2 separate regions of the Homo sapiens genome follow, and region 1 is linked to region 2. The links are contacts of gene promoters, found by promoter capture Hi-C in human tissues and cell types (Jung and others, 2019). All regions are on one chromosome and are shown on one strand. Each heading gives the region's core, a stretch centred on a gene start or on the middle of the fragment in contact. The rest is flanking DNA. Distances are from core to core; before and after follow the strand shown.

The links. The method cuts DNA at HindIII sites, captures the fragments that hold promoters and counts their contacts. A contact is called where the count stands out against the background at its distance.
Region 1: a fragment that was not itself captured here is called in contact with the fragment with the promoter of KRT78 in region 2 in 1 of the 25 tissues and cell types used here (spleen).

The regions. Positions count from the first base shown.
Region 1 is chr12:52,238,532-52,244,869 of GRCh38, forward strand. It overlaps KRT7 (keratin 7), which reads left to right. Exons shown (of 9, transcript NM_005556.4): 4 at 149-244; 5 at 2,941-3,105; 6 at 4,481-4,606. Among named protein-coding and RNA genes, the nearest start is that of KRT7-AS, 5.7 kb to the right of the region's middle. RefSeq lists enhancers at 4,310-5,285, 5,679-6,108, 6,159-6,308. The HindIII fragment of the contact is 8,834 bases long and covers 1-6,338 here.
Region 2 is chr12:52,843,819-52,850,243 of GRCh38, forward strand. It overlaps KRT78 (keratin 78), which reads right to left and starts at 5,176. Exons shown (of 9, transcript NM_173352.4): 1 at 4,729-5,176; 2 at 4,089-4,303; 3 at 2,946-3,006; 4 at 2,379-2,474; 5 at 741-905; 6 at 275-400. The coding sequence starts at 5,112. The HindIII fragment of the contact is 16,568 bases long and covers 1-6,425 here.

The DNA of each region.
Region 1 (6,338 bases), core at 2,975-5,474, 610 kb before region 2:
ATGTACAGCAGCTGTAGAAACTGTTTCTGGGTAGGGCAGTAGTATTTGGCCTGTGGGTTGGACAGGGCAGGCCTGCTTCCACCCCTACTAAATGTTCCCTGTACTGAGGACATGGTCTCCCTCTGCCCCATCTTGCCCCAACCCCCAGGATGTGGATGCTGCCTACATGAGCAAGGTGGAGCTGGAGGCCAAGGTGGATGCCCTGAATGATGAGATCAACTTCCTCAGGACCCTCAATGAGACGGTGAGGACCATGGAGCTGGGTGACATGTCTTATCCTACCCATTCTAACCAGGGAGCCATCTGGTCCAGCCCCCCGCCTCTGTGTCAGTCCAGATATGTGTCAGTGTGAGAAACAAACTCATCCGTCCAAACCCAAAGAATGGACTCAGAGACCTGGAGAACAGCGAAAGTGAGATTTTAATGACAGTCTTGCAAGATGGGTGTCTGATGGGCAGGCATGCCCAGCACAGCCACAACAAGCAATTTATCCTCTAGTGCACAGGTCCCTCCCTCCGTTCCTCACAGGCTGAGTACTATGGGGTCACGATCTTCCTGGACGTTGTCTATTGGTTGTTGGGTTGGGGCTTTAGGTGTTTTTTTTTAGGTTGTCTTGCTGCATTTTATTGCAGCCTACAATGCATTGCAATCCTAGTCAGCTCAAGGGCTCTTTAAGTATTTGACTTATGACCTAAGTAGCTGGGCAGGCTGATAAGAACAGAAAAAGTGAGCCATTTTGCAGGCTAGAAAACCTTCATTTTAGACTAAACTTCTTTGGTTCAGGTGAGGGCAAGAGAAGCTGGGGGCTGACAAGCAGGCACTGGCTATTCAAGCAAAGGGCTAGTATATCCTATTTCTTCTGTAGTTTGCTGACCTAAGCCAATTTAAAGCACTTTGTCTTGGAAATGGACCATTATATACATTATTTCCTTCATCAGGGGTTGCGAGGATTTATCCTGCCCTTTATCCCTTCTGGACTCAGGAATTCAGGACAGGCTAAGGATTCGGGAGGAGGTGGGGGTGAGTCAATCAGGATTGACCTTGGAGAGACATGGGATGATCGCAGCATTTCTAAGGAAGGGGGATTGGGTGGGACTGGAAGGAACCAGGAGGAGGTCAGGGGACTCCAGGTTGTGACAGGGTTCAAAGGTGGGCTAGGTAGGGCCAGCAGGGGAGCCCAAGTCAGGAGAGACTGGATTGCCTGAGCATTTACTCCCAGAGGGGCTGGGTGGGTAGCTGCCTGCCAACTCACCACTCTAATGTCCTCCCTTCCCTTCTTATTCTCTCCCTCTCACCCTTGTCCTCCGGGGTTTCCAGCTCTTTTTCTTCAAGGGGATTTAAAAATCTCTCCACTCTCATCAGTGTGAGTCTCTGGCCTTAGGCAGAAGGTAGGGTGGCCAGTCACCTGGCAGAGGCTAGGCTGGGCATAATTAGCTTGTGAGGTTAATTACAAACCAGTTCTTCAGCCTAGTCTTTGCCTGAACGTCCAGTCTCCACCAGCCCCTCAGAGCAAATGTCCACAGATTCATTAATTTCAGGGGAAGTTTCTTTGAGGCTTGCTTCAGGCACTTCTAATCTCAGGTCTTCCTGGGTCTATCACATGGTTTATTTATGTGTAAACACACATGTGTACACACACACACACACACACACACATATATATAAAGTTTTCTTTTCATGGTGAAAGTTTAGTTTATTTATGTGTAAACACACCTGTGTGTATATATATAAAGTTGTTTTCATGGTGAAAGTAATACATACTCATTGCAAAACAACCAAAAAATTAAGTAAATCGTAAATTGAAAATGGATTACTTGGCCAGGCGTGGTGGCTCATGCCTGTAATCCCAGTAGTTTGGGAGGCCGAGGTGAGTGGATCACCTGATGTCAGGAGTTGGAGACCAGCCTGGCCAACATGGTGAAACCCCGTGTCTACTAAAAATACAAAAATTAGCCAGGCATGGTGGCGGGTGCCTGTAATCCCAGCTACACGGGAGGCTGAGACAGGAGAACTGGTTGAACCTGGAAGGTGGAGGTTGCAGTGAGCCAAGATTGTGCCACTGTACTCCAGCTTGGGTGACAGAGCAAAACTCTGTCTCAAAAAAAAAGAAAAAAAAAAGAAAATGGATTACTTATACCCAATGCTACCATCTTTGTGTCTACCTTTCCAGACTTTTCTGTGCTTACATATACATAAAGATATAGAAATATACATTTTCAATAAAAATAGCATCATGCTTTATTTTAATTTTTATTATTATACTTTAAGTTCTAGGGTACATGTGCACAACGTGCAGGTTTGATACATAGGCATACATGTGCCATGTTGGTGTGCTGCACCCATCAACTTGTCATTTACATTAGGTATTTCTCCTAATGCTATCACTCCCCCCTCCCCCCACGCCCCCGACAGGCCCCGGTGTGTGATGTTCCCCGCCCTGTGCCCAAGTGATGTCATTGTTCAATTCCCACCTATGAGTGAGAACGCATCATGCTTTTTTTAATGCAACAGTATACCATGGGCATATTCCCCACAGGTAGTTGGAGCCATATCATCGGTGTACAGACTGCAGAGTATTCTGTAGCATGGTGGAATATGATAATTTCATCCATTCCCCATGGCCTCCCTCACAATAGAGCTCGTGCACCTACAGAACCTCACAGTGAGAAGTCACCACAGCGCACCACACTGTCCCTTTCCTTATCCCCTTTAACCCTGCCAGATTCTCGTTTGAGACACTGCTAATGGGCCCTCAGGGAGCCAAGGGTGGGCAGAATGAAGTAACTTAATGTGTGCTGGGTCTGGGCCCCCTTGCTGCCTGGTGACTCAGCCCACTCCCAGCTGTTCTCTCTTTTCTTTCCTTTGTGAGTGGGGAATCCCAGGGTGGGCGTGGGCATAGGATCCTGCCCTAAGTCCTGATGTCCCGTCTGGTCCCTACAGGAGTTGACAGAGCTGCAGTCCCAGATCTCCGACACATCTGTGGTGCTGTCCATGGACAACAGTCGCTCCCTGGACCTGGACGGCATCATCGCTGAGGTCAAGGCGCAGTATGAGGAGATGGCCAAATGCAGCCGGGCTGAGGCTGAAGCCTGGTACCAGACCAAGGTGTGAGGCCACCAGGGGCGTATTTCCTCCTGCCAGGGTCCTTGGTGGCAGCTTCCCTTACTCCTCAACTTGTCTCAAGCCTTCAGGGCCTGGGTCCCACTGTTCTGGCAGGCACCAGTGGTTTAAGTCTGTGGTGCTCAGCCCTGGAGAAAATCCCAAGATGGGAGGACAGGGCAGAGGAAATAGATATGGATTAATCATTATAATAGCTAAAATATGGCAAGTACTTACACAGTACTAGGCTCATGTAATTATTGACTCATGTAATCCACAGAACAGCCCTATTAGATAGGCATCATTATTACCCCCATTTTGTTTTATTTAATTTAATTTATTTTATTTCTATTTTTTGAGATGGAGTCTTGCTCTGTCACCCAGGCTGAAGTGCAGTGGTGCGATCTTGGCTCACTGCAACCTTTGCCTCCCTGGTTCATGTGATCCTCGTGCCTCAGCCTCCTGAGTAGCTGGGACTACAGGTGTGCACCACCATGCCTGGCTAATTTTTTTTGTATTTTGAGTAGAGACGAGGTTTCACCATGCTGGCCAGGCTGGTCTCAAACTCCTGACCTCAGGTGATCCACCTGCCTCGGCCTCCCAAAGTGCTGGGATTATAGGCGTGAGACACCGCACCCAGCCTATTACCCCCATTTAAAGATGAGGAAATTGAGGCACAGAGAGGTTAAGTAATTTGCCTAACTGCATACAGCTAGTAGATGGAAGAGCAGGGACTAAATCCTGAATGTGAGGGCCCTAGACCTGGGAGGCTTAATCATCACATCTACTTCATGGTGGCAGGACAGTTGATGGTGCAGGGGCTGAGGGAGCAGGAGTGGGTGCTGGGGTGAACCAGTGTTCCTGAAGAAGGGATCCCGAGGCAAGGATTGAGAGGTCTGCCCCTGCAGAGATAGAGAGTCATTCATGGTGCCTGGGTGAGAACACAAGTATGCCAACAAGAAGACCTGGGTTCAGGCCCTCGTTCCATCACTGATTGGCTGTGTGATCCCTGGGTGGTGCTTTCTCTTCTCCAAGACTCACTCTCCTCACCTGTGAAATGGGTGTTCTGGGTGTTGAATGGGTGCGAATCTCAAACTCTCAGTGATTCTCCAGCAGAAGGGCATGGTGGGAGTGGAAGAGCCCTGGGGTCCATGGGGATGGGACTGCGGAGCCTTGTCTGTCCTCCCTGCCTGGCTTGGAGGAGAATGAATCCCTTCCTCACACTGCTGTCTGGTCTCCTGGCATCGGGCAAAGGTTGATGGGAGTCAGACTGTCCTTCCCTGAAAATATAAGTTGGGAGGGGCCTTGGGTGGGGAGAGGGATGAGTTACCTGTACTCACTGCCCATCTCTCTGCCATAACTCTCTGTATGGCCCCTCCAGTTTGAGACCCTCCAGGCCCAGGCTGGGAAGCATGGGGACGACCTCCGGAATACCCGGAATGAGATTTCAGAGATGAACCGGGCCATCCAGAGGCTGCAGGCTGAGATCGACAACATCAAGAACCAGGTGGGACAAGTCCTCCTGGCTTCCCCTGCTACTTGGGGCATGCAGGGGTGGCCAGCTGAGGCCAAACTCAGGATGTGGAGCAGGAGGTTCCCATCTCCCGGCCAAAGCTGGTGCCACTGTCTCAGACCCCCTTGTGAGATCTCCAGCACAGAATGTTCTTGGCCAGGTCCTGGCATGGGCTGATGGGAGAAAGGTCCTGGATGTGCACAGAGCCTGTGGAGGGAGACTCAGGCTGGCTGGCCAGAAGAAAGCCACCACTGGTTCCACATTGATACTGAGCACTCTGCTTGCACCTGGTTCTGGCTGCAGGGCGCTGTCCCTGGGAGCTCATCATTCATTGCAGGGACAGAGGACAGCAGAAGACCTTATAATGACTCACATGGCCCTTTCCCACCCACTCCAACCTCACTTTCCACGATTCCCCTCACTCTGCTCTGGCCATGCTAACCTGCTTCCTGCATCTTGCATTTGCCAAGAATGGTCATGCTTCAGGGCCTTTGCACTTGGCGTTGCCTCCCCCTGGAATGTGGTTCTCCCAGCTCTGTCCATGGTTGTTGTTTTCTCCTCCCTGGGGTTTAGGAAAAGACCCCTTCTCAGAGACGGCACTCTCAAACACCAGCCCCTCTATCGGCAGCCTGTCTGAAGTTCTTTGAAGCCCCTGTCACTCTCTGAAATGTTCTGTCTTATTCATTAAGTGATTGATGGTCCCTACCTCCACTGGAATATAACAGATGCCTGGAGAGCAGGGACCCTGTCTGTCTGGTTCACTGCTCCTCTCTTCCAGCACCTGGCACATGGCAGGGGCACGGGTCTCAGATGAGAGACTGCCTGGGAGGATGAGCTTTGCTGGAAGCTGGGGTTGGAGGTGTTGATGGGGGAAGGGCCCCCAGCCCTGGCTGAGTAGTGTGTGGCCAGGGCAGCTCAGCCTGTGCAGGTGTCTGCAGTGGAGAGAGGGGGAGGGCACACATGTGGAAGCTTCGGAAAGCTGATTTCCAGATGAGCTGTGGGTGGTGGGGGGATGTGAGGGTGATTTACCCACAAATGTCCTCCCCTTGGAGCCCTGTGGGCCTGTTTACAGGAGGGCGGAGGCTGCCTTGGGGCACAGAGGCAGGGCCGTGAGTCACCCCATGAAGTGGGCCAGCTTCCAGGCCAGGAGGGGAAGCACAGAATAACAAATGGTGGTTTCCCAAACCCTGCAGCCTCTACTACATCCGGTTCTCCTCTCACACAACAGGGCGGATCCAGGCCTATAGCCAGGTGTCTACCACCACTGAGGGGCGTCATGGGGAGCTACAAGGGGTCTCCAGAGGCAGCGGGGATGGCGTTGGCTCTGGGGGCACCAGTGTGACAGGGCAGGGCACCGAGCTGTGGCCGAGGGGCAGAGTGTCAGAGGGCCTCCTGGGGAATGCTGTCTCTGGCAGAGAGGCAGACTGCCTCCACTGAGGGAAGAGGATCTGAGGATAGAGAATGGCCGGTAAGAAGGGAGAGAAGTCCTTGCCCAGGGGACAGGGATGGTGGTTTTCTGAGCTAAACAAGATGAGGCCTGGGACTATTCAGGCTCCTGGCAGTGGGGGCTGAGCCTAAAGCAGAGGGCACTCTAAGGCCAGGGAGAAAGTGGCAGCTGCTCCAGGCAGGCACAGGTCTGGAACCAGAGCATCCCTGACCAAACCCGGGGACTGTGAGTCATGCATCTCATGGCATCTGGGGGCATCTAGGAGGGTCTCTCTGCTCC
Region 2 (6,425 bases), core at 3,926-6,425:
GTCAGCCCCCTCCCCGATGCCAGGGGAGTGCGATCCAGTGGCACTATCCCACGAAAGCCAACATGTGGCTAGAAGTCACAGCAGGAAGGCTGAATTCACCCTAGATGGGGCTTGAAGTTCTCTTCTCCCCAAATTATCCAAAGCTCCAGCCAGTTATCAAGGTCCTCGACACAAAACCACTGGCAACCCAACTGGAGAGAGAAGCTAGGAACTGGGAAGTGAGTTGAAGGCACAAAGGCAATGAGAGGACATTTGGGGGTCTCTGGGAATCTACCTGCTTCTTGAGGTTCTCAGTCTGACTCTGCAGCCTCTGAATCTCTTGGTGTAGCTGAGAGATCTGGACTTTCGTTTCCTGCATCCTGTCCCCATGAAGCTGGGCAGACACCTGAAGTTCCTGGTACTGAGAGGGGAACAGAGGGGACACCATTAGTTGAGAGGACTGCCACCTTTGACCATCTCCTCATGTTTGAAAAGCCACCTCTCACTCCTTATTTGGAGTGTGGGTTAAACGCCTGAGCCAGGACACAGTGGGATATACTTCCAGAAGTCCAAGCTTATCTCCCACGGTTCCTCTGCATCGCCTCCCTCCTGGAGGGGAAATGGCCCTGCCCACCCAGCCCCAGACCTTCAGGGAGGTAACTGGAACTGCCCCAATGGGATCGAGGTGGATGACCACCCTAGAGTTTGGGCATGGAGACCTAGCCATTTCCAGCATGGTGCTGCCCCCCAGGTCCCACCACCTTGGTCTGGTACAAGGCCTCAGCCTCAGCCTTGCTGCTCCGGGCGATCTCCTCGTACCGGGCGCGGACCTCAGTGATGATGCTGCTGAAGTCCAGGTAGCGGTTGTTGTCCATGGACAGCACCACAGACGTGTCGCTGGCCTGGGTCTGGAGCTGGCCCAGCTCCTGCAGGGAAGACAGACTCAGTGTCCACTCACCCCCAGCTCCTTCTCCCCTTGAAGCCTAGGATGGTTGAGCAGGATGATGAATTTCTGCTTACATGCCATGACCCCCATTCATCCCAGGTGGCTTTGAGTATGCCCTGCTCACCATGGGACTCGATCTCCTCATTCAAAAATGAGAGCCATAGGAGGTGGTCTCTGAAGTCTCTTGCAGCTTGGACATTAATGGAAAATGGCCTGCAAGGCCCAAAATCACCCAGCCCCCATCACTCCTCAGGCCTCTTTTTTTTTTCTTCTTCTTCTTTTTTTTTTTTAAGATGGAGTCTTACTCTGTTGCCCAGGCTGGAGTGCAGTGGTGTGATCTCGGCTCACTGTAACCTCTGCCTTCCAGGTTCAAGCCATTCTTCTCCCTCAGCCTCCCTAGTAGCTGGGATTACAAGCACCTGCCACCAAGCCTGGCTAATTTTTGTGTTTTTGTAGCGACAGCGTTTCACTAGGCTGGTCTCGAACTCCTGACCTCAGGTGATCCACCTGCCTCAGCCTCCCAAAGTGCTGGGATTATAGGCATGAGCCACCGTGCCCAGCCATCTTCAGACCTCTTATCATACTCCTCTCCCTCTCGCTCCTACTACTCTGGCCACACCGACCTTCCTGCATTTCCTCAGACAGCACACTCCCGCTGTGGGCTGCAGCCACTGCCTGGAATCCCAGAAACCCACCTGCGTGGTGACCTTCCTCACCTCCTCCAAATCTTTGCTCAGATTTTATCTCCTAAATAAGGCCTACCCTGGCCACATGATTTGAAGTTGGCACCTGCTCCATGTTCCCAATCCTCCTTTCTCTGTTCTCATTTTCCTTTTTTCCATTGCGTTTATCACCTTCTTCCATACTATATGATTTCCTTATTTACTAAGTCTGTTGCTTATTGTCTGTCTCCCAATAGAAAGCAAACTTAGTCGGGCGTGGTGGCTCATGCCTGTAATCCCAGCACTTTGGGAGGCCGAGGCGGGTGGATCATGAGGTCAGGAGTTCAAGACCAGCCTAGCTAAGATGGTGAAACCCCATCTCTACTAAAAATACAAAAATTAGCTGACCGCAGTGGCGGGTGCCTGTAATCCCACCTACTTGGGAAGCTGAGGCAGAGAATTGCTTGAAGCCGGGAGGCAGAGGTTGCAGTGAGCTGAGATTGCACCACTGCACTCCAGCCTGGGCAACTGAGCAAGATTCCATCTCAAAAAAAAAAAAAAGCAATTTTTTTATCTGTAGTGATTTTTTTCTGGTTATTCATTGATGTATCCCCAGGACCTAGCAATTCACATAGTAAGTTTTCAGTAATTGGTTGTCAAGTGACTGAATGACCCAGAATCTAAGCCACCCTAACAGACTTCCCCTCTTGGCCATTCTCCTCATGGCCACAGGAAGCCTGCCCACCCAGTCCTCTCTCTTGGCTGCAGCCTGCCCTTTGGTTGAGCCTCACTTCTTCATTCAGATGCTTCAAGAAGTAGAGGTACTCTCTCAGAGCCTCCAGCTTGCCCTCCAACTCCATCTTGCTCAGGAAAACCCCATCCACATCCTGGAGACAAGGGGAGAGAGAACACGTAACCCCCTCTTCCTCTTTGGGGTCCCTACTCTGGCTCAGGAATTCTGTTCATGCACTGCTCAACACCCATCCACCATGCCTCCCAAGACCCCCTCCTTCCTCCTCCAGCCCCACTCTGTCCTGCTCTCTCCTTTGCCCAACATTGACCCAACATCACCTTCAGGAAGTCTTCCCTGATTAATCACAACCAGTTCTGCTTCTTCCTCTCCCTCCCCGCCCTCTCCTGCAGTGACATCAAGAGCTCGTCAAGCAGTCCTTTAGTCAGATCTTGCCTTGGGGCCCCTGTGTCTAGGCAGATGTCCCATTTTCCCAGGGGACCCCTGCAGGTAGAGTGATAGCCTGTCCTAAATCAGGACCTCCCACCTTTTCCCTCCCAGCCTAGGACTAGGCTCCGTGCACAGTGGATGCTCAGAACGTAAGTGGAGCACTGGCCCCCACCCTCACCTTCTTGAGGACCACAAAGTCGTTCTCAAGTGTGGCACGCCTGTGGGCCTCCTCCTCATACCTGCCAAATAAGTAGAGAAGGATGCAGTTTGAGGCTCCACGGTCAGAGCTCATGCCCCCATGTCCGAGCATGACCTCCCTGAAAAGGACTCCTTGCCTTAGAATGCCCCCAAACAAGACAATAACCAGCCCTTCTCTCCTTTCCTGCCACGTCCTAGCTATGTACCTGTGCCACCCTTTCAGCCCATGTCCTTTTGATGACGACAGCCACATTGTTTCAGTTTATAAGGCACATTCGAATACCTTTTCCCACTTGCTACTCACACCCATCACTTGAGGTAGGCAGTTTGGGTTTTATCAGAGAGATTAGATGATTTGACCAAGACCCCACAGATGACTAGGTAGACAAAGCAGAGCCAGCCCAGGTCTTCTGACCCCAATCCAGGGCTCCTTCCAGAACCTTCCTTCCTCCACCTCACATCCCATTATCCCAATAGCCCTGGGAGGCCAGAAGGGCAGGTGACATTTCCCAAGTTTACAGAAGGGAAACCAAGTCCGGGAGAGATGAGATGCCTTGCCCAGGATGCACAGCTACCCCTCACTCACAGTTGCCCCAACCCAAGCCCCCTATTAGTCCAGGGCTCTCTCCACTCCACCAGGTGACCTAGGCGTGGAGCCCAGAACCACAGCCCATCTGTGAATTGTGTCACAGGCCTGGGGACAGCCCCACTAAATTGATTCCCTTCCCTCTTTGGAACCAGAGAACATCTGAATCACTTTAGCCCACAGCCCGCTGAACAGGAATTTCTCAAGAATAAAAAAAGCCACTGGGGCATTGTTTAAATAAGCCCTTCCCAGCCTTGACCGGAAACATGGGCCCTTGTAGCTGGGGCATGTAGGACACCGGTCTCCCTGCCTTTCCTCCAAGGTTCTCCAGATCTGCTTGGGGACTGCGGGACACCTCGTTTACCTGTAGCAGGTGGGCACCTGAGAGCCTGGGGAATGGGGACGCGGAGGGGTAGAGGGGAGGCCAGTCATGTGCCTCTGGGTGCTCAGTATGTGGGACACCTCCTGGCTGACAGACCCAAACTGAGTCATCCCAGACCCCGCCCACATGGCATGGGGAAATTTCAGTGTGCCTACTTGGACTTATACTCCTCCTCCTGGTCCCGGCAGGCCTTCAACTCAGCATCCAGAGCCCCTCGTTCTCCCTGGAGCTGCTCCAGCTGCTTCCTGAGCTGATCCAGGCAGGCCTCAAAGACAGGCTCCAGGCCCTGCTGGCTGCCACTCAACCCCTGTTGCTGCAGCAGATGCCACTTCGTCTCCAGGACCTTGTTCTGCTGCTCCAGGAACCGCACCTGCAGCAAAAGCAGAGGATCCCTGAGGCTCCTGTGGGACTCCCTGTGCACAGCCTCTGGAAAGTAAAGCCTGAGGGACCCTCCCATCAGCCTCACCTTTCCCCTGTCCCCCTGCCCAACCTGGGCAGGGGAAGCCTCATGACCTTCCATGACACTCTGAACACAACAAAATGACTGGACTGACTAATGGGGCAGGGCCTTCCCCCCGCTGGCTGGCAGTTCTCTGTCCCTGAGCCCCAATCATGGAACAACAGGGCCTCAGCATAGCCAGAGAGAGTCCAGTTAGTCCACAGGAGGGACTTCTTTGCTGCAGAAGTTATTAGAAAAGTGGTAGAAGGAGGCCAAACTTCCCATTTCCAAGTCCATCAAGAGCAGCTCCTCCAAGGGAGGCACAGAGACAGGGGCTTGGCTGAGTTGACCCTCACCTTGTCAATGAAGGAAGCAAACTGGTTGTTGAGGGTTCTGATCTCCTGGGTCTCCTGCGTCCGCACCACCTGGAACTGGGGATCGATCTCAATCTTCAGTGGGGTCAGCAGATTCTGGTTGATGGTCACTTCTTGGATGCCCCCCGGAGGGCACAGGGAGAGCCCAGGCCCACCACTCCACTCCCCAAACCGCACCCCCAGCCTACCCCCTGACCCCCAGGTACTCCCACGAGAGCCTTCCAGGCACCCCCCAAAGGAATTAAGGCTCCTGCTGCTGAAGCCGCCCCTGCTGCTGAAGCCTCCCCTGCTGCGGCCCCTTGAGCGAGCAGAACAGGCTGAGCGAGCGCTGAAGCCCCTCTGGGCCCGGCATGGGGAGAGAGACATGGCAGAGACAGACAGTCACGCAGCTGCAGACGGACAGACAGATTGTCAAGGTGTGTGAGTTTCTGCCCTGGGGCCCCAGCACGAGACTTTTATCCACTCCCGTACCTGGGCTGGGCCTTGGAGAGCAAGATACTCTTGACCTGACTGTGTCTGTCACTTGGCTCCAGCTGACTTACTCTGACGTGCCTGGAGAATAAGTGTCCGGCACGTGCAGAGCCAAGGGAGAAGGAAACCCAGACCCTGCCCTCAGAGCTCCCAGGCTGTTGGAGAAATAGGCATGCCCAAAGACAAGGAAGCAGGCAGGAGACTGGGATGTCAGTGCTGAGGGACAGGGAGGGATGGCCGGAGCAAAGTCACTGAGGCCCTCAGGGAAGGCTTCCTGAAGGAGACAGGGAAGCGAGAGGAGGTTGAAGAGGAAAGAACGCTAGAAGGGGTTCAGAGGAAGCATCAGAGTGCCCTGGATTCTCAAGGGAGAATCTGCCTCAAGGAGTTGGAGAAGGAAGGCACTTGCAGCGCCACAAAGAGAGGAGGTTAGTGGAGGTGTTATTGCCATAGTTGGCTAAAAGACACTCCAGGATTTGGAAATGAAACAGAAAAACAGGGTTTCCAAGTCCTTCCTCTTGCCCAACCCAGCAATCATCCATGAGGCACCACCCACTGAAATCAGGCATCTCCATCCAGGATCGCATGGGACAGCACGTTTCTGACCCAGCCTGTGGCTCTGCTCCTTCCACAAGCACTTGGGGCCAGGCCCATCCACCTGCCATCAGGCTCCGCTTCCTGAGGTTACAAATCAGAGCCACCCAGGCTCTGAAATGAAATGTGCATTTAGGGCCGGGCACAGTGGCTCACGCCTGTAATCCCAGCACTTTGGAAGACCGAGGTGGGTGGGTCACTGGAGGTCAGGAGTTTGAGACCAGCCTGACCAACATGGTGAAACCCCATCTCTACTAAAAATACAAAAATTGGCCAGGTGTGATGGTGCACACCTGTAATCCCAGCTACATATGAGGCTGAGGCAGGAGAATTGCTTGAACCCAGGAGGCAGAGGTTGAGCAGTGAGCCAAGATCGTACCACTGCACTCCAGCCTGGGCAACAGAGTGAGACTCCATCTCAAAAAAAAAAGCAAGGTGCATTTAGAAAATACTCCTAAGCTGGGAACGGTGGCTCACGCTTGTAATCCCAGCACTTTGGGAGGCCTAGGCGGGTGGATCACGAAGTCAGGAGATCGAGACCATCCTGGCTAACACGGTAAAACCCCGTCTCTTAAAAATACAAAAAATTAGCCAGGCGTGGTGGCAGGCACCTGTAA